4 separate regions of the Homo sapiens genome follow, and regions 1, 2 and 3 are each linked to region 4. Evidence: promoter capture Hi-C in 16 types of primary human blood cells and fetal thymus (Javierre and others, 2016). All regions are on one chromosome and are shown on one strand. Each heading gives the region's core, a stretch centred on a gene start or on the middle of the fragment in contact. The rest is flanking DNA. Distances are from core to core; before and after follow the strand shown.

Region 1 (6,067 bases), core at 3,131-5,630, 230 kb before region 4:
ATAAAAGAATGTATAATGCCTCAAATTTTTGTTTTTGTTTTTGTGACAATCTCACTCTGTCACCCAGGCTGGAGTGCAGTAGTGCAGTCTTGGCTCACTGCAACCTCCGCCTCTGGGGTTCAAGCAATTCTTGTGCCTCAGCCTCCCGAGTAGCTGGAATTACAGGCATGTGCCACCACACTCGGCTAATTTTTGTGTTTTTAGCAGAGATGGGGTTTTATCATGTTGGCCAGGCTGGTCTTGAACTCCTGACCTCAAGTGATCCTCCCGCCTTGGGCTCCCAAAGTGCTGGGATTACAGGCGTGAGCCAACAATTGACCTCAACAATTTTTTTTTTTTTTTGGTTTGCTGTTGAAATGATATTTTGGACATATTGAGTCAAGTAAAATATATTTGAAAAATTAATTTTACCAATTTCTTTTTTCTTTTTTAAAATGGGTACTAGAAAGTTTTAAATTACACGTGTGGCTCACATAACAGCACTACATTTTTATTGAGCAGCTCTGTTCTAGATTAGTTCATGGCTGGCTCCACACAAAACATGAACTATTTTAAAAAGACAATTGTCTAATTTAACAGTTGATTCTTTTGAAAACCCAGTTTTCTCCTGTTACGAAGAGGAACTAACTAACTAAAGAAAGAAAGAAAGCTGATTTCAAACTGAGGCTCCTTTATTTATTAGCATTATGTCTTTTGTCAAGTTTATTAACATCTTCAGTATAAATGAGGGCAATACGTTTATTTCATAGGAATGTCATGAGGATCAAACTAAGTAAAGCAGATAATGTACTTAGCACAGTGCTGGGTACATAGTTAGCCCCACATCTGTGGTTAATGACTAAACCTGGAAATCAGTGCCGGGCATGGTCGCTCATGCCTGTAATCACACTTTTGGAGGCCAGGGCAGGGTGATCGCTTGAGCCCAGGAGTTCAAGGCTGCAGTGAGCTATGATCATGCCATTGCATTCCAGCTTGGGTGACAGAATGAGACTCCAAATCTAAAAAAATTTAAAATAAAAATAGAACTGTAAATCAGTGAGGAACTAAACTAAAAAGTGATCAGAAAAAGAAGGAATGGATTTTTAGAACGTTCAAATGGAGACTAGATGTCAGGGTGGACAACAGAGGGCAACAGAGGGCGGGACAAGAATAGGAAAACTCCCAGGCCACAAAAAAGGAAAATTAAATCTGTGAGAAAATTATTCAATTTTAAACATGTTGAGGAGTAGGTGACCGTGGAAATTTTAGAGGAGATAATATTTGGTAGAAAATCCAGGTTTGGAGCTAAGGAGATTGGTCTGAATTCTCAACAGAGACTTGGAGTCCATAGGTAAGAGGTAGTAGTAGGTGGAGCCATGGAAAGGTGTGAGATTACCCAGGGAATGTGTTGAGACACAATATAATAAAGAGACAGCTCACTGAGAAAGACAATCAGGACACCCTGGCATCTAAAAGGAAGGCAAGCCTGTAATCCTAGAACTTTGGGAGGCCAAGGCGGGCAGATCACCTGGGGTTAGGAGTTCAAGACCAGCCTTGCAAACATGGTGAAACCCCATCTCTATTAAAAATACAAAAAAATTAGCCAGGTATGGTAGTAGGTCCTTGTAGTCCCAGCTACTTGGCAGGCTGAGGCAGGAGAATTGCTTGAGCCAGAGAGGTGGATGTTGCAGTGAGTCAGTATCATGCCACTGAACTCCAGCCTGGGCGACAGAGAGAGACTCTGTCTCAAAACAAAACAAAACAAAATAAATAAAATTAAAGTAGGGCAGAGGACAAGGATCTTGTAGAAGAGACTGAAGAGGAATAACCTGGGAGGTAGGAGGAAAAATAGAAAAGATACAAAATGAAAACCAAGAAAGGATGAATTTCTCAGCATGCCCTCGAATATGTGGAAGAAAAGGGAATATAAGAGATATACTCACCAAAATTTTCATTACCTGGTAACATTTTACCAAAGACTGACCTTTGCAGAGAGTTAAACATTTTGTACACCTGGAAGTGGTGATGGCCTCATATCTCCTTTTCATCCCTTGATATGGAAAAGTCTAACGTTTTATGAGCCTAGCAGCCATTTGTCTGGTTTGCTAAAGTCTCCTAACCCCAGTTTGTTTTGTACACAGATATCTGTATCACTTTTCACAAATGTAATTAGATTCAATAACAAAAACAAAATGTATTGTTTACAATATGGCCATGAATTTGCTGAATTCTGCTTATTGAAATGTCATTGCTTAAAATAAAGAAATACAGTGTGGAAGAAAGATCTGTGGGTATCTTAGAAAACGTGAATTAAAGTCCCTGCCCAAATCTGGAAGCAGAGGAATCAGGAACTTCTACAAGTGCACCACCTGGTAACGTTTTACTGAAGACTGACCTTTGCAGAGAGTTAAACATTTTGTACACCTGTAAGTGGTGATGGCCACATATCTCCCTTTCATCTCTTTTTATGGAAAAGTCTGTGGTCTTATGAGCCCAAGGTAGGGACTGTAGCACATCTTATTTGAAACCAGATTACTAGTTAAGAGGTTAAAATGAGATATCGCAAAGAATCCACACTGAGGAATCAGGGCTTATACTTTTCAAAAAGGCTATTTCTTCTAGAGAAACATTTTAACTAAGTGTAGTGCTGAACTTTCATTATTATCCACTGATTTATTTTTGTTAGAGAATGAATTCTGAATCAGTATATGTGGTTCCATGGAAAAAAGGCCAATTATTTTGCAATAATATTATATAAAATCCTCTCTGTAAGAATTAAAGAGGAAAGAAACATGAAAGGTGGCTCGACAGCCAAGGACAGGTTTATTTTAGAGAAAACAAACCTGAGAGGGGCTTCTGGCTGAGTTAGGTCAGAGCCTGCTCTCTTACAGACTAAGTAAGAGTTTTTAAGGATTCAGGGTGGGAGAGTTTATCAGAGGCTTGGACTGCTTCTGTGTCTTTATTGTGCTTATCTGGGAGGGAGAGTTTCATGACTGTTCCCATACATCTTCCTGCAGCTGCAGGCATACCCCCCAAGTCTGCTTTTAGCTTGCCTCTTAGTGCACCTGAAGGGAAAGGAATGAGCTTTTTAAGGCCCACTGTTTTACCGGGGCCCATTGTATGAGGGTGAAGTTTGGCAGAGACTTTCCCCCCACTTCCTCCTGTGCCGGAGCTGTCTTATCTTTGTTTTACTGTCTGCTCTTTCTGGCTGCTCCTTATTAGAAGGGAAGTGATTTCCTTGAAATGCATGAGGCTAGAAAGGGAGCTGGAACTTAAAATGGCAGTGGTTGTCTGAGATGACGGTTCTCCTGTTGTGTCACTCACCCTATTGTTGAAAATGGTACAAACATCCTCCTTATCCTGCCTATTATTTAATGCATCTCTCTCTTCTGCTTTTTGATATATCCCATCAATATTTTTCTCCATATGCCATCTTAGTTCAGATCTTTATCATTTCACATGGTTTCCAACATCAGCCTTTTATCTGGTTTGCTGAAGTTTCCTAACCTCAGTTTGTTTTGTACACAGCTATCTGTATCATGTTTCACAAACGTAATTAGATTCAGTAACAAAAACAAAATGTATTGTTTACAATAGAGCCATTAATATGCTGACTTCTGGTTATCAAAATGTCATTGCTTAAAGAAATAGATTGTGGAAGAAATATCTGTGGGTGAGGATCTTAGAAAATGTGAATTAAAGTCCCTGCTATATACCATATAATAAGTTTTATTTTCCTCATTTAGGCTTTAGTTTTCTCATTTGTAAAACAAAGTAGTTTAAATAGATGATCTCTGAAGCTTCTAAATCCTGATACTGAATATAGCTTGACTGGCCCATGGACATTCAGGTCTTTGCATTGAGTTTCCCATTAAATTTTCTGAGGCATTTTTTTTTCATTCAATAAAGTTTAAGGAACATGAGTCAGTAGCGGGCCCCATGTTGGACCCTGGGTGTAGAAAAATTCCCCACCCAGAGAAACAGAAGACAGCCATCCATCCACATATTTGTACTACATCAATATGTACTCAAGGCAGCAAGAGCAGCATTGTACACAGTGCAATGGAAGGGCAATGATAAAAAATAGCTTTGCCTGAGGATGCTAAATGAAGATAATAGGCAAGCCTACATGGTAGATACAAGAATAGAAAAAAAAAAAACCTGAAAAGCAAGGAGGCAGAAAAGATTCAATAAAATGTTAGGTAGACATCTGATTAAAGTGGATTATTAAATACAAACTCCTAGTTAAGTGCAGTGGATTAAATGTATATGCTTATCTTTGCTTCTCCTTATTTCTCTAAAATGATAATGCATAGATTAAAAAAATACAAACTGTAAAAGAAAAAAAAGAGAAGATAACAGCTGACCAGAGATGGCAAGAAAATTGGGAAAAATTAGAGAGAATATGGACATGAGAAAATTCACTTAGAAGACTGAATAAAGATGAAAACTATGTACTCTACAAGTTCAGGGGAGAGCCAAAAAAAGCAACTTCCACTTGCATTGAGGAACTCCAAAAGTGTCAGAAATTAAAAATGCAAGATGCCTCTGAAGGTAGTTGTGCAGATAGGGCTGAAAACAGAAGGTCTGGTTTAAAGTTGGTTTGAGAATCAGTTAGAGCCTGTGCGGCCCACCCTTACCTCAACAGAGATGGGAGGTTTATTCTCTGGAGACACTGAATCAGAGGATTCAATGTGAAGGATAGACATCTGCTATCCTTCACACTCAGGACAGCAGAAAGGTGAGGAGGCTGAACTGAAAGGGGTAGGGACTAGAAACCTACACACTGAAAAATGAGACCCCAAGCTCCAGTCCACAACTTTGGGTTTGTTTACATGTAGACTTATTATTGTACAGGCAGAGGATTCTCATGGAAAACTGACATAGCAAAAAAAAAAAAAAAAAAACCTAAGGATACTGGCAGCTAATGATTCACTTAAAAATAAGTCCCTACCTGTTACCCTACAGAGAAAGTCATTGGTCAACAGGTAGAACTTAAGTACAAAGCTTGCAATCAGCTTTCCAGTGCCGCACTATTAAATATGAATGGGAAGCTTAAATATTATCTGGCATTAGAGGGAAGCCTCCATTATAAAATACACAGAAAAAAACTATATATAAAATATACAGAAAATATACAGAAAAAGTACTCCAAAAAATTAAAAGTGTAAGAAGAATAATGAAGTATCGGGGAACCTGCCCCCTGTAGTCACGTAGGTTCTTTTCTGTTTTCCCCAAGCGTCAGCCAGGTTGAGAAATAAAGGGACAGAGTACAAAAGAGAGAAATTTTAAAGCTGGGTGTCTGGGGGAGACATCACATATCGGTAGGTTCCGTGATGCCCCCCGAGCCATGAAACCAGCAAGTTTTTATTAGTGATTTTCAAAAGGGGAGGGAGTGTACGAATAGGGTGTGGGTCACAGAGATCATGTGCTTCACAAGGTAATAGAATCTCACAAGGCAAATGGAGGCAGGGCGAGATCACAGGACCACAGGACTGGGGCGAAATTAAAATTGCTAATGAAGTTTCGGGTACCATTGTCATTGATATCATCTTATCAGGAGATAGGGTTTGAGAGCAACCAGTCTGACCAAAATTTATTAGGTGGGAATTTCCTCATCCTAATAAGCCTGGGAGCGCTATGGGAGACTGGGGCTTATTTCATCCCTACAGTTTTGACCATAGAAGACGGCCACACCCAAGGGGGCCATTTTAGAGGCCGACCCTCAGGGGTGCATTCTCTTTCTCAGGGATGTTCCTTGCTGAGAAAAAGAATTCAGCGATGATATTTCTCCCATTTGCTTTTGAAAGAAGAGAAATATGGCTGTGTTCCTCCCGGCTCACCAGTAGTCAGAGTTTAAGGTTATCTCTCTTGTTCCCTGAACATTGCTGTTATCCTGTTCTTTTTTCAAGGTGCCCAGATTTCATATTGTTCAAACACACATGCTCTAAAATTTGTGCAGTTAATGCAATCATCACAGGGTCCTGAGGCGACATACATCCTCCTCAGTTTACGAGATGACAGGATTAAGAGATTAAAGTAAAGACAGGCATAGGAAATCACAAGGGTATTGATTGGGGAAGTGATA
Region 2 (6,052 bases), core at 251-2,750, 250 kb before region 4:
ATTTTTTTATCTCTTTGATGAAAGCCATTTTAACTGAGATGAGGTAATATATCTCATTGTGGTTTTGATTTGCATTTCCCTGATTAGTGATGCTGAGCATTTTCCATATCCCTTTGGTCATCTGTATGTCTTCTTTGGAGAAATGTCTACTCAGGCTTCTTGCCCATTTTTAAGTTGGGTTTTGGATTTTTTGGGTTGCTGTAGGGCTGTTTGAGTTCTTTGTATAATCCAGATATTAACCCCTTGTCAGATGCATAGTTTGCAGGTATTTTCTCCCACTCTATAGGCTTTCTCTTTGGTCTATTTCCTTTGCTGTGCAGAAGCTTTTTAGTTTGATGTAATTGCATTCACCTATTTTTGCTTTTGTTGCCTGTGTTTTTGAGGTCTTATCAAAAAAATTCTTGCTCCAGACAAATGCCATGAACCATTTCCCAGAGATAGATAGATAGATAGATAGATAGATAGATAGATAGACAGACAGACAGACAGATAGATAGATAGATGTTTTGAGACAGAGTCTGCCATGCTGGAGTGCAGTGACATGATCTTGGCTCACTGCAACCTCCGCCTCCTGGGTTCAAGTGATTCTCATGCCTCAGCCTCCCAAGTAGCTGGGATTACAAGCACATACCATCACACCTGACTAATGTTTGTATTTTTAGTAGAGGTGGGGTTTCACCATGTTGGCCAGGCTGGTCTCAAACTCCTGACCTCAAGTGATCCACCCACCTTGACCTCCCAGAGTGCTGGGATTACAGGCATGAGTCACTGCACCCAGCCCATTTACCCTATATTTTATTCTTGTAGTTTTGGATCTTTTGTTTAAGTCTTTTTTTTTTAAGAGATAGGAACTCACTATGTCCACTGTGTTGCCCAGGCTGGCCTTGAACTCTTGGGCTCAAGTGATCCTCCTGCCTCAGCCTCCTGAGTAACTGGGTCTATGGATGTGCACCACCACCTGGCTACGTTTAAGTCTTTAATCTATTTTGAGCTGATTTTGCAGTTGGTGAGATAAGGATCTAGTTTCATTCTTCTGCATATATATCCAGTTTTTCAAGCACCATTTATTAGACTGTCCTTTTCCCATTGTGTGTTCTTGGCACTTTTATTGAAAATTAGTTGGCTGTAAATATGTGCATTTATTTCTATGTTCTCTATTCTATTCCACTGGTCATTGTGATTCTTTTTTTTTATTCCAGTGCCATGCTGTTTTGGTTACAATAGTTTTGCAGTATATTTTGAAGTCAGCTACTGTGATGCCTCCAGCTTTCTTTTTCTTTGCTCAAGATTGCTTTGGCTATTCAGGGTCTTTTGTGGTTCCATGCAATTTTTTTTCTTACACTGCTATTTTGAATTCCTTGTCTAATAGGTCACACATCTTCTCTTTGGGATTTGTCACTAGCCCCTTATTTTGCCTGTTTAGTGAGGTCATAATTCCGATTGTACTTGGTGATTGTGGCTGCACTTCGATGTCTGCACATCGAAAAATTAGGTATTTATTTTAATCTTCACAGTCTGGCTTTAAATGTTCCCATGCTTCTTCAGTGGGCCTGTTCAGTTATCCAAGCCGACTGTTATGAAAGACTCTGACCAGTGCAGCTGTTCCGACACTAGAGGGTGCCCTAAGCCCATATTTGTTGTCAGTTTCACAAAAGTTCCATAGTTGGCATGCACTCTGGCAGAGATGGACCTGGTGAAGATCCAAGGCATGTACCCAAGTTGAGTGAGAATATTGGCCAGGGACCCAAGTCTGGAAGCCTGTCCCATAGGCCCAGACAGGCGAGGCTTCCAGGCCAGTTCCCCAACTGCAGCAGGAGAAGATGGAGCTGAGCCTGGGCCGCCTCTGTACCTGCTGTGGGATGGGGGCTGGTGGCCCAGATATGCAAGCCTCCCAGCAGTTCTCAGGAGATGCTGAAGTTGAGACTAGTTCCCCTCAGAATTCACTGTGAGATCAAGGCCAGTGAGTTCACCCCAGTAGGTCAGGTGGGTGCACATCCCACAGTCATTTCCTGCACAAATGGGACAGTTCCCAGACTGAGGAGCTGGAGTTGATTGGGCCCCCTCAGGATCTGCTTTGGGATGGAGGCTGATGTGCCCATCATGTAGGCTTACATGACTGACATGTGTAATCCCTAGACTGTGAGATATTGGTGAGTCTTTCTCTTGAGTTCTTGCACAAACAGTAATAAGCTGGGATCCCAGATGAGGAGGACTGGAGCCCAGTTACAAGGTAACTTTCAAATTCACTTCCAAGACCGTTGTCAGTGGGCAGACGAGCCTTTCTGCCAAGGTACTAATGTGCATGATTCCTCCTGGACCCCTTGGCAAATTGTTTTGGTTCAAGGATAAACAGGACTGTACCTAAGCCTTTTGGGAAACAAGGCTGTTTCTAGATTTAAATCCCAGGGGCATGATCAGCAGGTCTGCCACCTGGCTGTTGGTCTGCACTCTCAAAACAGTCTTTCTGGCTCTTGGGCTCCACCAGGGATTCATAGCTTCCTACCTTCCTACCTTCCTACCTTCCTACCTTCCTACCACAGAGACTTGTCTGTGGATGAATGCAGACAAATTTTGAGAGGATATGAGTGGGTGACTTCCTATTACACCATTTTGCTGATTTGTTTCTGTTACGTGTGTCCATGTGAAGAGACCACCAAACAGGCTTTGTGTGAGCAATAAAGCTTTTTAATCTCCTGGGTGCAGGTGGACTGAGTGAAAAAGGAGTCAGCAAAGGGAGGTAGGGGTGGGGCAGTTTTATAGGATTTGGGTAGGTAGTGGAAAATTACAGTTAATGGGGGTTTTTCTCTTGCGGGCAGGGGTGGGGGTCACAAGGTGCTCACTGGGGAGCTCCTGAGATTCATTGTCCAGGAGAAGGAATGTCACAAGGTCCATTGATCAGTTAGAGTGGGGCAGGAACAAATCACAGTGGTGGTGTGTCATCAGTTAAGGCAGGAACTGACTATTTTCACTTCTTTTGTGGTTCTTCAGTTGCTTCAGGTCATCTGGATGTATATGTGCAGGTCACAGGTGATATGATGGCTTAGCTTGGGCTCAGAGGCCTGACAGTCTCTAGATTTTATTTATCACTGTTTTGTAATTTTTAGCATTAAAATAATATACATATTTTCTTAGATGTATACCTAAGTATTTCATTTTTTGAGTGATTATAAATGATATTGTATTTTAAATTTTGATGTTCATATATTTATTGCTGGTATACAGAAATAGAATTAATTTTTATATGTTGATCTTGGGTCAGTGACCATGCTGAACTCCCTTATTAGTTCCAAGACCCTTTTCATAGATGCTTTAAAATTTTCTACACAAACGATCATGTAATCTGTAAGTAAGGACAGTTTAATATCGTTTTCACTGAGATATATGCCTTTCATTTTTCTTCTTCCCTTATTCAGTGGCTGTAATGTCCAGGACTATGTTGACTAACATAGTCAACTGGTGAGAGCAGACATTATTTTCAATCTTGGGGTCCACAAGATTCAGTCTTTCACCATTAAATATCATGTTTGCTGTAGTTTCTTTGTAGATGATATTTGTCAAGTTAAAAAATTTCCCCCATCTTTCTCATTTTATGAGAATTTTTATCATTAATGAATTGTGAATATTAACAAATGCTTTTTCTGCATCAGTTGATAATATTGTGTAATTTTCTGTTGATGTGATAAATGATATTAATTGATTTTTCAATATTGAACCATCCTTGTATCCTGAAATAAACCCCACTTGGTAGTTGTTTATCATTCTTTTTATATATTGCTAAATTCTACTTGCTAGTATTTTATTAAAGATTTTTTATCTGTGTTCATGAAATATTGGTCTGTAGTTAATATCTTTTCCTCATTCTTTCTTTTTTATTTCTCTCTTTCTTGTGCTGTTTTTGTCTTGTATGGATATCAAGATAATTCTAGATTTATAAAATTAATTGAGAAAAAATTTTCTCCCTTTCTGTTTTCTGGAAGAGATTGTGTAGAGTTGGCATTAATTCTTCTTTAATGTTTGGTAGAATTCTTGAATGAAACCATCTAAGCCTGAAGAGATTTCTTCTTGGAGAGTTTTAAAAAATTCGAAGTCAATTTTCTTAATACTTATCAGTCTATCAGCATATATTTCATTTTGGTGAGTTCTGGTAGTTTGTGTTCTATTTTATCTAAGATAATTTTGATATCTAAGATAATTCTATCTTTGATAAAATAGAATAAAATAAAAATTCATCTATTTTATCTAAGTTGCCAAATTTATGTGTATGGATTGGTTTCCTTATTATGCTTTTAATGTGTGTAGGGTCTGAAGCACTATCTCCTATTTTATTCTTGATGTTGGTAATTTGTGTCTTTTCTCTTTTTTAAAACAACTTTTCAAGAGGTTTGTCAATTTTATTGACCTTTTCAAAGAATGATTTTCACATTGATTTTTCTGTATTGCCTGTTTTCATTTATTTCTGCTCTTATCCTTATTATTTTCTTTTTTAAAAATTATACATTTTATTTATTTATTGTTATTTTTTGAGACAGGGTCTTGCTCTGTTGCCCAGGCTGGAGTACAGTGGTAGAATCATGGCTCATTGCAACCTTGAACCCTTAGGCTCAAGCAGTCCTCCCACCTCAGCCTCCCAAGTAGCTGGGACTACAGGCATGCACCACCCTTCCCAGCTAATTTTTTGTACTTTTTTGTAGAGGTAGGGTCTTGCTATGTTACCTGGACGGGTCTTGATCTTCTGGTCTCAAGTGATCTTCCCACCTTGGCCCCCCAAACAACTGAGATTACAGGTGTGGGCCACTGCTCCCAGCCCATCCTTATTATTTTCTTCCATCTGCTAGCTTTGGGTTTACTTTGCTGTTTCTTTTCTGTGTTTCTGAGAAGACAGCTTAGATTAATACTTTGAGATTCCTCTTTTCTAATGTATGTAATTTAGTGGTATAAAGTTCCTTTTTAGCAATGCTTTGGTTTTAGCCTACAAATTTGGCATGTTGTGTGTTCATTCAATTAAATGCATTTTTATTGCCCTTGAAACTTTTTCTTTGAAAGAGAACAATATAAAATGTGTTGTTTGGTCTCCAAGTGTTTGGAGGTTTTCCTGTTATCTTTCTGTTATTGATTGTTAGTTTAATTCCTCAGTGGTTAGAGAACACATTCTGTATGATTTAAATTAAAAAAAAAACATTTTTAGGTTTGTTTTATGGCCTGGGATATGATCTATCTTATTACATATTCCTTGAGCACTTGCAAAGAATATGTTTTCTGCTGTTGTTGGATGGAGTGTTCTATAAACGTTGATAAAATCCTGTTGGTTGATGGTGTTGAATTCATCTATCACCTTGCCGATTTTCTGTCTAGTTCTATCAATTATTGAAGGAGAGGTATTGACATTTCCAATTACAACTGCGGATTTGTCAATTTTTTATTTTATTTCTATTTGTCTTTGCTGCACATATTTTTCAACTCTGCTATTTGGTACATACACATTTAGGATAGATATGTCTCCTTGGTTGATTGACCTTTATCATTACATAGTGTCCCTCTTTGTCTCTGGGGTTTTTTTTTATGTTCTGAAGTCCACTTTGTCTGATATTAATACAGTCACTGATGCTTCTTTTTTTAAGTGAAACATGGTGGCTCTTTATTGAAATTTTCATGTGAGGACAGAAACTAATATAATACATTTAATTAACTTGGAATATTTGTGTGAAGATATAAACTAATACCTTCAAATATCCTAGAATCTATCATTTCTAAGCCAGATTATGCTCTTCTATCATTTTCATTCTTTAGCATATGACACAAGTGGGAAATATGTCAAGGGGATGTATGGTGTGTGGTATTAAGGAATGCTATTCTTGATGGCTCGCTATTGTATGGTTTCCAAAACTGTGCTGAAATAATTTTACATTTGGTTGCCTTACTTATTCTCAAGCATTTACAATAAATACGCATGTGAGAAAGAACACAGATACACTTATATCAACCAGTAAGATTGTTCATTAATTATCAAATACAGTGTATGTTAAAAGCCTGTAGGGTTTAGGTTGCTATGTTA
Region 3 (6,809 bases), core at 1,082-3,581, 140 kb before region 4:
ATTTGTTCCTATTTAGAATAACTAAATTAAAAAAAATAAGGAAGAGTGCTTGTATTCGTTGGAACTTCAACTGCTTGATGCTTGACATAGAAAATCTAATTCAAATTATGCAAGCAAAAACATAAATTATTGATTTATGTAATGAAAAATCTTGTAGTATTCAGCTTTAGGCAAAGTTGGATCCAGAGGCTTATACATTCTCATCAGGTCTCAGTTTCTTTTCACTTATCAGCTCTTCCTTTGTTGTGTTAGATCCTTTCTCAAGGAGATGGGGTCTCCTCTCCTGGTGGCGGGATCTTTGCTGGCAGCTATAAGCTCCTACCCTGCTTTCATTAATATCCATTCAGAAAAGAAGCTCCCATTCTATTTCCAATTGCAATTCCACAAAAGTACCCTGATTGTATCTCACAGGCTCTGATTGGATCATTTTCTATTCCAGCATGAATCTTTGTGTCCATGAAGAAGAAATATACTGATTGGCTAAGGCCTGAGTTACAGGCCAATCACAGTCAGTGGGCTGAGCCAGCTCTGCATCAGTTGCTAGCTGGGCAGAGTGATTTCCCCAAGAGTACTTAGGGTGCCCAGATTGAAATAAGGCAAAGGGGTACAAGGAAAGGCATAAGAGAATTAGCAAAGAGGAGGCCATGCACTGGTTTCAGCAGAAGTATGATGGGATCATCCTTCCTGGAAAATAAATGTCCATTTCTAGCCAAAAGGCCAATAAAAAAGATTTTATTTAAATATTTTTTTTAAATAAAAGGAGCCACAAGATTTCTTTATACTCTGCTTTTGGAAAAGATGATGACACTGGTCAAAAAGGAGAGAGATGCAATAGCTATAGGATCAGGGATGCATTTCTTGCTGGAAGCTGTAAAAAACAAAACAAAGGAAATATTTTAGGTAGCAGAGTTTTTTTTAAAACTACCTCATCTATCCATTGATCCACTTACTTAACTTAGAAAATTCCTAATAAAAACATTTGAAGTTAGCTACTTAAAACACATTATTTTAGATTTTTCTAACATAACTTGCTTATTTTGCAGATGATGAAACAGACACCAAGAGGTTAAAAGATGTACTCCCAGGTAACCCAGCCAGCTGGTGGTAGAGATCTAATTTTCCATCTTTATCATCACCAGCAGCATAATCACTGTTAGCATTATCCCCATCTTAATTATCATCATCTTCATCACCATTATGAAAGTTAACACAGACTGAATGCTGATTTTGTGCTAGGATCTATTTCGAGCCCTTGCTATATATTAACTTAAGCCTCACAACAAACCTATGAGATTTTTATTCTCAATATCCTTGGTTTTTACTTGATGAGATTGTGACACAGAGATGAGAAAAAACTTGCCAGTGTCACACATCTTGTAAATAGTATAGGCACCATTCAAACTTGGCCAGTTTGTCTCAATTCTGCATTCTTAACCACTAACCTGTTTGTCTGTGTATTACATGTCCATCCATAGAATTTTTCATTACAAGGTGAGCAAGAAATATTCACACAATCCTGTTTGGAGTGTGTGTGTGTGTGTGTGTGTGTGTGTGTGTGTGTTCTAACTACACATATACACCTTTCACAGGAAATGTGGGACAGGTTAGCAGCCAGTTAGGTGTGGAAGCAAAACTGGAAAATAAAAAAAAATATTGTCAGATATAACTAATAATTGGCCATATAATGGGGTGGGGACTGAAATGAGATGGGAGATGGAAACCCTGTAAAAAATAGTCTAAATAAAGACTGGAATCTCTTTGCAGCCAGTTTTCACTATTGTTTAAGGTAGAAAAGATGTTTCTGGGAGGAAGAGATTCAACTCTAATTGCCTCAATATTTGCTCATATTGTTTGATAGGATAACCAGATGAGGGAGAAATACATTTCTACTATTTTCACACAATATATACATTTTTTAGTTTTTTGGAATTTCTATATAGGAGTGTGTGTGTGTGTGTGTGTGTGTGTGTGTGTGTGTGTGTGTATACAAGTAGAAATTCCAAGACAGAAAAGACAGAAATTACTCTGTGTGTGTATGTGTGTACTGTATGTATGTATATATATATATATATATATATATATATATATATATATATATATATATACAGTAATTTCTGTCTTATTTTTTTGAGTTGGAGTTCTCACTCTGTCACCAAGCTGGAGTAGATACAGTAATTTTCAAGACCTCAATTTTCACCAATAAGAGTTGGCAAGGAAAATTAAGAGCATATGTCTTTCTAAACTTTTGTCAAAGTTTGTGTTAAAATCAAATTATATGAATCCCTACAGAGACTTAGGAAGCCTTAATACCACTTTAGCAGGTCAATCATTAGAATGGTTCTCAAACGATTTTTGTTTTTTTTTCCTCTTCACTGAGGCTAAAGATCACAAGGATTTCCAGTCCCACCCTTTCCCAGTATTTAGAGAGCTTAAGGGTCTCTGTTAGGCCACACAGTAAGTGACAGAGCCAGTATTTAACCTAGAGAGTCTGATTTAAGAGATTATATGTTGAGCTTCCTGGAATGTAATGTCAATTCTCAGTCCTCACTGTATTTGACCTATCAACCATATTTATGGTAGTGAATCACTCCATCCTCCTTGATACTTACTCTTCATTTTGCTCTTAGGACACCAACTCTATCAATTTTCTCCTCCCTCACTGGCCATTCCTTCTCCATTTTTTTTTTTTTTTTTGAGATGGGTCTTGCTCTGTCACCCAGGCTAGAGTACAGCAGTGTGATCTCTGCTCACTGCAACATCAGCTCAAGTGATTCTTCCACCTCAGCCTCCCAAGTAGCTGGGTCTACAGGTGCACACCACCATGCCTGGCTATTTTTTTTTTGTATTTTTGGTAGAGACGGGGTTTTACCACATTGCCCAGGCTGGTCTCGAACTCCTGAGCTCAAGCAGTCCACCTACCTCGGCCTCCCAGAGTGCTGGGATTATAGGTGTGAGCCATCACACCTGGCCTCTCCATCTTCTTTGTACTTGACCTTTTAAAATGGGAGTGTCCTGAGGTTTGATCCTTGGACATTTTCTCTCCTTTATTTATACACCTTTGTGGGGAGCTCATCCAGTCTCTTGGCTTTAAATACCACCCATAACCCACTGACCTCAAATTTATCTTTCCATCCTGGGTCACTCGGAATTCTACACTTGTGCATCAACTGTCCACTCAACATCTCTGCTTGGGTTACTATTGCACAGCTCAGATATAACATGTCAAATACCAAACTCCTGCTCTTAAATCTACTCCATCCCCAGGCTTCTCCATCTCAGTGAGTGCCACCTCCATCCTTTCAGTTACTCTAGCCAAACCTTGGAGTCATTCTTCACTCTTCTTTTTCCCTCACTTTTCACTTCCAGTGTGTCAGGACCTCCTTTTGGCTCTGAATCTGGTCAAACCTTACTGCCTCCACTCTACCACCTTCATCTCTCAACTGAATGATTGAAATAGCCCCCTACTTGGTTTCTCTGCTTACCTCATTACAGTTTATCCTCTACTGGGCTGCTAGGTCAGTTTTGACACAATCTTCTATGTTTTCTGCCCAAAACCTCTCAGTGGTATCCTATCTAAGAGGAAAAGCCAAAGTCCTTACAACTGCCTTCAAGGTCCTATGTGATCGAATCTACATCATCTTCTGTCTTCGCTTTCTATTATTTTTCTCTCATTCCCGTACACTGGCATCCTTGCTGTTGCTTCTTACTTGAGACATTTGCACTTGCTGTGCTTTCTTCCTGGAATGCTCTTTCCTCAGATATACATGGGACTGGCTCTCTCATCTCCTTTCAACCTTGGCTCAAATGTCACCCTCTCAGTGAAGTTTCCCCTGATCACCCAGTTTAATATTGCCACTCCTTCCCATAGTGTTCACTGTCTCCTTACTCTGCTTTATTTTTCATCTTAGTATGTACCACCTACTAACTACGACATAATTTACTTATTTATTTTGTTTATTTCTGCCTCACATCAATAGAATGTAAATCCCCAAGGGCAGGGATTTTCACCTATTTCCTTCCCTGCACCTAGGATAGTGCCTAGCAAATAACAAGTGACCAATAAATACTGATTTGTTGAATGAATGAATAATAGCTGCTATTATGATGATACCCAAATAAGAGACAAACACATAGACACTACTGTCTTGCAATCATAGTCATTCTTCAAAAAAATTCATAAGTCCTCTTTATAATAATTAGGATGTTAAAAATAGCTTCCTTTTGATTTTATTATGTCAGGTTAAAGTAACTAACTCTGTTGATACTTTTTCTCTACCTCTTTTATGGCCATTATCATTTCTACCTGGCATTATTATTATTATTGTTGTTACATGGACCATATATTTAGGAAAATAAATGAAAGACAGCTGTGCATTAATTACAAACTAAAGTTTTATTTGAGGATACCTCACATTTTTTTTACTTTTGTAGTTGTCTTTAGTTTTCTATTCAACTATCTCTTCAAAGTTTTTAATTTTCTCTTTACCTTTTTACAGGATTTTTAAAATTGGAGAATGTGATCAATTGATGGGTTGTGACATCAGCTTAGGAGGTCATAGCCATCATTGTTTAATAATGTAATAAAATAAGTTAGAATAGAAACACTAGCATTAACACTGCCTATGAAAAGGGTAACTGTTGTATTTTATGAATATGTGTGTATTTGCATATTTATGTGTGTGTGAACTGATTTATAATGTAAACAGTCATAGTCAAGAAGCTTAAAACTAACGGTAGTTTCTCAGCTATATTTGTTGAAGAATGGATGAATCCCCTGAAACCAGTCTATGGAGAATATTGTCCTGGAATTCTTATTAGAAAACATGGGGAAGGATCCTATTTTTGTCATTTGTAAACTATGAATAATTTTACGCAAATCCCTTAAGCTCTCTGAATCTCAGCATTCACATCAGTACAGCGGAGTCAATAACCTGACTTACAGGGTGATTGTGAAAACTAAACAGATAATGGGTGTCCAAGCGTTTTGTAAACTAAACTGCCAAACAAATATCATTTTATCAGTGTATTATAACCTGATTTTGGTCATCTCTGCCTTAGGGTATAAAGTCTGGAAGAAATACATAATGATTATAACTTTTATTTCATGAAGTCTGAATCTGAATTTTATCAGACTGTTCAGAAGTAAATAGTCCTTAAACAGAAAAAGGTAAAGCTGACGTGCAGTATACCAAGTCTAGTGTTTGAGGCAAATGCTATCTATAGCCTCTTTCTGTCAAAATGCAAGGAGCAAGAGTGTTAATATTGTAGAATATTACCTAGCAAAAACTTAGCACCCGAAAATGAAAAGCGTTATTCCTTCTGCCTCTTCCTTTGTTTCTCTTCTTACTATCAATTTCACTGAAGCACATGCTTGTGCCATTAAACCATTATCCCACTTCCATGTGCAAAGTACTTTCCCAGAGTTTCTCAGTTGTGTTTGAAAGGAGGCAGAGACACCAATGCTATCACAACATTCCCACAAGATGAGTATCACTTCCATTTTATAAATGAAGAAACAGGCTCAGAGGTTAAGTCATTTGCACAAGGTCACCTAGCTACTAACATATACCCAAATCTTTCTGGCTCCAAAGTTTATTCACTTTCCACCATGCCGTGTGGTCTCCCAGATTTATTCAATGACTCATTCTTTCATCCATTTATCTGAGACAGACACTCTACTTCAAGGTCATTGTGATGCCACAAATAGGGTAAACTAATTTTAGATAATTGAAGCCCAGAGTAAAAGAAAACAGGCAAAATAGAAAGCTAATAAAATAAATAATAATAATGATAATAGTATCTTAAAAGTTTTGAGTACTTAACATTTGTCAGATACTATTCTAAGAGATTTTACATGCATTCATTCATTTTCTCCCCACTAGAATCGTACAGGTTTTTAAAAAGTGAAGTTTACATGTAAAACCAGGCTGACTACAAACAATTGCCTATATTTCTCTAGAAACATGTTAAGAATTTTGATTATGTGAAACATTTTAACAAATAAATCCCTGTTCTTTGTGAATCCAATGATATAGAACAGAGCATGTATTTGTGTGTCTACAGATTTTTGGCATAGGTTATTTTGCTGAAAGAAGCAAGATTTAAGGGCAAATAACTAACATTCTGTTAACATATTTTGAGTCTTCCAATGGGCATGAAGACACCTGTTTCTATGGCAACCAGTACAGGTCATGTGAGGGGTGATGGAATAATTAGAGAGGAAAGCTGTTAGTTTAGAATGACAATTTTTCCTTTTGCAAATTTACTTCCTTAAATAGTATAATTCTATTAATTTGATCTCTTGTCTCTCTAAAAGCAACAGATTCCTGGAAACTCTTTAAACTTGAGTTACATGCTAACAGGACTGATTTTAGCATAAATTGAAGGACTGGAGAAGCTATGCTCTTAAATATACTGTCTCTTCTTTGGGAGAATTACAGTATGCTGCTGGGTAATTTTAAAGGTCTTCAAGTGGTCTTTCCAGTATCACGTCTGTCAGATTGAGAGGGAACAGGAGAGAAAACATAATTCACTTGGCTTATAGGGACTTCTGGGGACACAGAATAGCTTGTGGCTCCTGCTCATGAAACAAAACGAAGCTGAAAGAATGAGAAATAGTGTCCAGAGAAGATTACAGTTTCGTGAGGAGTTAGATATCAGTGTTCCAGAACACCATCTGTGAATTCCCTAGGCTGGGGTTAGTGGAGCAGTGAAGTGGGAAATGGTAGCTATCTAGAAAGTTGGGTCTGGGGAGAGTCCACTGATCTTACTTCCTCCCTGTTAAGGATCCCAGATAAGAAAGACACACT
Region 4 (6,191 bases), core at 2,768-5,267:
TGATCAGGATTCCAAATAATTCCATCACCGCTCCTAAAATTTCTTGGATTTTCTCTTTGGAGTCAACTTCTCCACTCAATCACGGTCCCAAGCACCCAGTGATCTATTCTCCAATCCTACAGTTTTGCCTTGCCAGAATGTCAAAAATGAAGTCAAACAGTACACTGCCTTTTGACTGTGGATTTTTTCATTTAGCAAAATGTTTCTGTGATTTATTTATGTTATTGAATGTATCAATAGCGAGGTTCCCATTAGCTTTATTTCTTGTTTCTGTGAAAGCTTAGAGTGTTCAATACGCCAAAGTTATTTTGGAGGAATTCCTTTGAGATTGGTCATTTTGCTTATAGCCATATAGCCCGATTACCTGGTTGATAAGATGAGAGACAAACTGACCAGAAATCAGCCATCACTAGACTAGGCAATGAACTATGAAGGGATCTGGTAAAACTACTCCATCCAACAGAGGTGATGTGTATTGATTGTTGCTTGCCCAGCCTACACCAATCCCCTGAGAGTCAGTAGGAGTCAGAGTAGCAGAGACAGGAAGAGCAGCCACTTCAAACAGGGAACAGTGGGTGAATCCTTGATCCAAGATGATGACCAGACCCTTAGAACCTCATAGTGCCTTGAACGATGTTTCGTTCTCCACCAAGCCTTGCTGAAGGTGGTTGAGTTTCTTATCTTCCATTTTTCTTTTCAGATAGACTAAAATTCTTTCTTTTATCATTTATTTTTTGTTTCAAAAAGTTTCCTTAGCCATCTTTTTAGAGTAGGTCTTCTGATTATAGATTCTCTTAGTCTTCCTTTGTTTGAGGATGTCATTATTTCCCCTTATTCCGAAGAAGGATAAATTCACATGACATAGAAGTGAGGGTTGACAGTTCTTTTTCTCAGGACATGAAAAATGTGCCATATCCTTCTAGTCCCCCTGGTTTCTAATGGGAAATCTGCTGTCAGTTGAGTTATTTTTCTTACAGATAAGGTGTTGCTTCTCTTTCACTGCTTTCTACTTTTTTTCTTTGTCTTTAGTTTTCTGAAGTTTAGCCATGGTGTATTTTGGTGTAGATTTCTTTGAGTTTATCCCACTGGGTTTTCCCACCTTCTTGATGTTACACAATTACGTCCTGCACTACATTTGGAACATTTTTAGCCATTATTTCTTCAAGTACTTTTTAAGCTTCATCTCTTTTCTCCTTTCCTTCTGAGATGCTGATGACATAAATATTAGGTCCTTTAGTCTCACAGATCTGTAAGGTTCTATTCATTTTTTTTGTGGGGGGGTGGGTTTATTTTCTGTCTTTTGTTCAGATTGGGTAATTTCTATTTTTCTGTCTTCAAGTTCACTGATTCTTTCTTCTTTATTCTCCATTCTGTTTTTGAGCCTATCCATTAAGTTTTTTATGTTGGTTATTCTATTTTTCAGTTCTAAAATCTTTATTTCATGCTTTTTTACATGCTGTGTTATTTCTGAATGGAGATGAAATTTCCCACTTGGGCTTCTTTGATACCGCTCTGGTAGGGAGAAGAAGGTGGCCTCGTTATGACTGGTTGGAGGTGAAAGTCCAAGATCCCAATGTGGCTTTCTCTGATGCTACTCAGCTAGGGTGGGAGAAAGAAGGTCACCCCGTTGTAGCTGAATCAAGATGAAAGTCTTGGCTCTCCACTCAGACTTTGCTGAGTCATGTCATGTTTTTTTTCCATGGTATTTGACTGGAGTAGGGCGGTTTTTGTTTAAATGTTTTTGTTCTTGCTAGTTTGCTACTCTCTTGGTCACTTGTCTAGAAAAAACAGGCTTTTGGGGAGGTTTTTTGTTTTTTCACTCCTCTTGGTGTTTTTGGGTTACTGTCTTTTCCTGCATCAACATCCGGATATACAAAAAGAAAATTCAGGAAACTTCCTGCCATATTGTTCCTCGCATCTAAAGCCTGTCTTTGGTTTTTCTTCTCTCAAATATTTTGAAATATTCCATATTTCTGTCATATATAGTATCCAGGATTTTTAGCTGTACTTAGCAAGAGGCATGAGAGGAAATGTGTCTACTTTACTTGGTCCAAAACAAGAAGGAACATAGATTTTTAAGACTGTAGAGTAATTTAAGAATTTTCTAATTCTAAACCCCTGAGAACCATATTAGAGTGGCTTTAGGAGAATTTTTCAAACTATACACCTAGACTTTCTCCACACTCCTAATCTCTCCCTCTTCTCTCTCCTGGATTTCCTTTGGAGGAAGAAGACTTATGGCACAACCACCCCCATATTCAAAAATTGAGAATCTGAGAATTGCAAGATTATCTTTCTCAAGTGTACTGGGATGGAAAAAAATTGAGAACCCCAACACTCTAAATCATTCATTTTACATATGAGGAAACTGAGACTCAGAGAGGTGACATATAGCAGATAAGTGGTAAACCCAAGCTTGCATATGGGTCTAGAACAGTACTTTTCAAACATTAATATGCAAACACATCACCTTGGACCTTGTTAAAAAGCAGATTCTGATTCGGTAAGTATGGAGCAGGGCTGAAATCCTGCATTTTTAACAAGTGCACAGATGGTGTTGCTGCTGCTGCACTTTGAGTAACAACATTCTAGAACATTCACTCAGCTTTTGGCACTTTCCACTGTCCTTAAAATTTGTATTCTTTCATCAAGAAAATGGAGAATATGTAAAAGTTTGACAGATAAGCATCTGAACATTAACGTGCCTGGTATGTAATAGTAAAGGAAGATGTGAATGGTAATGGAGATACAGAGGAGGGAGCAGAGGGACTCATCCAGAGACCAAACACTTTCCTGGCTTTGCAAGGTAATCATTGCTTTCAAAACTCAGAGGAATTTTGGTAAAGACCAGTGGAGAGCATATGAATGACTCTCAAGCTGTCTAGTTGCTCATGTAATCTGCTTAGGGCTGCAGGTTAAGAACCTCTCCCTGTCTAGAAAGGATAAATTGACCTTCTTTCTCTGTAATGTTATGGAGTGTAATTTTCTAATAGGTAACAACTGGGGAAAGAACATTGAAATTCACTGGCAAGGCATGGAAGTGACCAGCAAACAGACATCTTGGTCTCTGTCTGCTTTGATGTAGTGCAGCACAAAGACAATTGAATATGCAAGGTACTTCCAGATTTGGGCCCTGTTCCTGGCTCCACTATTAATTTTATTTGCAGTCTTGAATAGGTCACTTAATCTTTCTATGATAAATTTATCAAAAGAGCTTACTGATAACTACCATATGGGTTGAGATCTATTTAAAATACAAAAAGTATTAATCTATTAATAATTAATACTAGTGGATCAATAAAATAGGAAGACTGAGTCAAGGAGTCTCAGTAAATTGGATTGTACCCTAGACCCTACACCCTGAAACATTTAGGTACGGAAGATCCAGCAATCGATTCTCAAATAAGTGTCCTCAGTTAACAATTCCTAGCTGTCATTTGGGCCCTTTCTGTGTCAGATATCAGTTTTGACTCTGAGGTTCCATCTCTCTGAGGAAATTCGCACAATACCAGTTAGGGAGACATACTGTGTGTTTCCCAATGTCACTGCCCGCATGTTCAATGTCCCTGTATAGCAGGAGGCACTGTGGCTCCCTCTCTTCTCTCCAGTTATCTAGAGCCCCATAAGAATTATGTCACTGTGTATATGTGTGTGTGTGATTGCGCACATAGGTGTGTGTTTGTCAGAGAAAGGGAAGAAATGGGGGTATTGAAATCTAAAGGTAAGAATAAAAAAAAGACAGAAGATATTGAATCACAAACTGAAATTTACCCTTGGATATCAACACTTTTTGTGTTTTTGTGAATACAATACCTATTTATTGACTGGAATGAACCCAAGTCAGTTTTGAAAGGGCCTCTAATTATTGGAAAACTCCTAAGCCTGTCCCAGCATCAACCCATGTTCTCCTAACTTCTTTGCACCTGGGTTGCTGTTCTGAGCTTATGACGGTGAGATTAGGCAGCATGAGGGTATTACAGAGAGATAAGTCAGGATGCAAAGATCCTTTTGTCTTTTGCAAAGAAGGCAGCTGGGCAGCTGATAGGAACAACATTCAGCTCCGTGAGTACTTCTGAACTTCTGGTGAATTTGAGCAGGATAATTGAAGGGCTTTGGGGGGTTGATCAGGTTCCAAAAGAAAAATTGCAGAAGAAAACATGTTGGACCTGTGGGCCTGGGCTGTGGCTGGGGATGAAAATGGGAAAGAACATGAAGGAGATACATGCAGACCTTCTTGTTATGCCATGGGACAAGCAAATAAGTGAAACTTGATTATTACAAGGTCACTGCAAAACTTGATTACTGAATTCATTTAGAAGGAGCCCAATAGTGACCTCCCTGTTTGCAGCTTCATAGTAAACAGTTTTCTGAAGAAGGAGGAATCTGTGGCACTAAATAACCACAGAGAAAACAGTTCTTTACTCCCAGGATGTGCCTGCAAACTTGGCCCAGGATGGTGTGAGTGTGAGGAAAAGGAGAAGGGGAGCTGAGAGCATGAGAATGACCACAGGGCAGGGCAGGTGGCTGAGCCTTCTCCCTTTGAGGTCAAGTGTTTGTTCCATTCTGAAGCAGGGTGCTGGCTGGAATTTTGGTAATTTTTTTTTTATGGCTTTGGTTTGGGTCTTGCTTTGCTTTTCAAATTATTGATTTTCTCTGCCTCAGCAGGACCCTGGGTGATATTTATGGGCTCAACCCCAGCAGTACTTCCCTTCCCAGCTCCTTCCTGCCTCTTTCTTTGTCCACCAACAATGGACTGGTCTACCTGTCTATAGCTTTGCTGAGAAAAAGAGAACTGGAAGTGTAAGGTGATAACAGCAGCATCAGAGAGCTGTCTCAGGAACCTCCTAAAACTGCTTTTCAGAGGATCATCCTCTGTCACTATATAGAGCTGGGCTTTGCTGTATAAAGAAACAGAAGATGATTTTTTGCTTTATACAAATCTTTAACTTTGTTAAGTTGACCCTAATCCCAGTCCCCTAAAAAAGTATGCCTTGAAATATTACTTTGCTGCATCCACTTATTTCTGCAGAAAAACAGTTTGTAATCTTCAAAAGGGGAAGGGCTAACATTGCTTTAAATACAGGAAAATGTTCTGGCTCACAAAAGAATAAATTGCCTAATGCTTTTGGAGGAAAAAATATGAAACTTCTTTCAGCTAAAATCAAGTCTGATAATACATTTAAGGTTACTCAGCTCCAGATGCCCTTAGAATTTCTAGAAAGGTGTGGTCAGCATGAGGTTAGCCTTTGGTGATGTTTATGGACAACAGGACTGGCTTCCAATGCAGGAAAAGGTCAGAGGTGTTCTACCCTTCCTAAAGGTTTTGCAGAGAGAATTGGAGGGTAAATCTATGACAGAAACTGCATAGGGATTAGTCGACTGTTCCGGTTACCTAGTGCAAATCCTGAGCACCATTAGGATCAAGGGATTAACCTGGCAACTGTTATGTAACTCTTTCTGAGGAGGCTTCTTTCATATAATGCATCATACTCAGACATGAACACTTTCTAAGCCTAGAGGTGTAACTTCAAAATTATGTAAAAATGCAAAAGAAACTTGCAAGAAAAAAGGGGATGTATCATTGGGGAATATGGATGTCACGTGTGATTTTTAAATTCTTCGGGGTTGCTGTTGGGGTGTCAAAGGAATTCAAGGAAAGCTTCTTAAGACAGAATTTTAAGACCAGAAATAAGTTAACAGTCGGGGTGTTTGAAGGAAGCAGAGAATTACCCAGCGAGGGCAGATGATAATTGCCCCTCTGGTGTATGGCAAGGGCCCTTCAGCAGTTGGCCCAGAGGAAGGAGGTGCAGAGTCCAGGTGAACAAGTGTCATAACCACAGATTTGTTTGCATGGCTTTCTTTTCTCTCAGAAGGTCTAGCATATATTTGCCCTTTTTGAACACTTTGTACCACTCTACTTATATTGTCTTCCTAAAATTTCCCCATAACTCTAAAAGGAAGGTCTTGTTTGATTCATTTTATAGATGGAATAAGACCCACAGAGGATTATGAAATTTATCCTAAGTCACGTAGCCAGTTCTGTGGAGTAGGAACTTAAAACTATATCAGTTTGATTCTAAAGAGTGTACTCTCTACCGTGTTACCATCAAAGGACAATTTGACAAATGAGGGTCACTTTAGGCCCTTACATTATAGAACTCTGGATCCAACTCAATTGGATCTTATTAGGG

Evidence for each region. The method cuts DNA at HindIII sites, captures the fragments that hold promoters and counts their contacts. A CHiCAGO score of 5 or more calls a contact.
Region 1: a contact is called between a fragment that was not itself captured here and the fragment with the promoter of PDE6H in region 4, in 1 of 17 cell types (total CD8 T cells). The highest score is 6.1, in total CD8 T cells.
Region 2: a contact is called between a fragment that was not itself captured here and the fragment with the promoter of PDE6H in region 4, in 1 of 17 cell types (total CD8 T cells). The highest score is 6.3, in total CD8 T cells.
Region 3: a contact is called between a fragment that was not itself captured here and the fragment with the promoter of PDE6H in region 4, in 2 of 17 cell types (total CD8 T cells and neutrophils). The highest score is 6.1, in total CD8 T cells.

Annotation. Positions count from the first base shown.
Region 1 is chr12:14,740,479-14,746,545 of GRCh38, forward strand. The region is part of intron 2 of LOC105369669; the gene reads right to left. Among named protein-coding and RNA genes, the nearest start is that of H4C16, 28 kb to the right of the region's middle. The HindIII fragment of the contact is 1,207 bases long and covers 3,778-4,984 here.
Region 2 is chr12:14,722,266-14,728,317 of GRCh38, forward strand. The region is part of intron 5 of GUCY2C-AS1 (GUCY2C antisense RNA 1); the gene reads left to right. Among named protein-coding and RNA genes, the nearest start is that of GUCY2C, 29 kb to the left of the region's middle. RefSeq lists an enhancer at 1,696-1,885. The HindIII fragment of the contact is 2,358 bases long and covers 322-2,679 here.
Region 3 is chr12:14,828,595-14,835,403 of GRCh38, forward strand. It overlaps ART4 (ADP-ribosyltransferase 4 (inactive) (Dombrock blood group)), which reads right to left. Exons shown (of 3, transcript NM_021071.4): 3 at 1-868. The coding sequence ends at 777. Among named protein-coding and RNA genes, the nearest start is that of ART4, 12 kb to the right of the region's middle. The HindIII fragment of the contact is 4,773 bases long and covers 1-4,718 here.
Region 4 is chr12:14,969,025-14,975,215 of GRCh38, forward strand. PDE6H (phosphodiesterase 6H) reads left to right here and starts at 4,018. Exons shown (of 4, transcript NM_006205.3): 1 at 4,018-4,062. The HindIII fragment of the contact is 3,244 bases long and covers 2,414-5,657 here.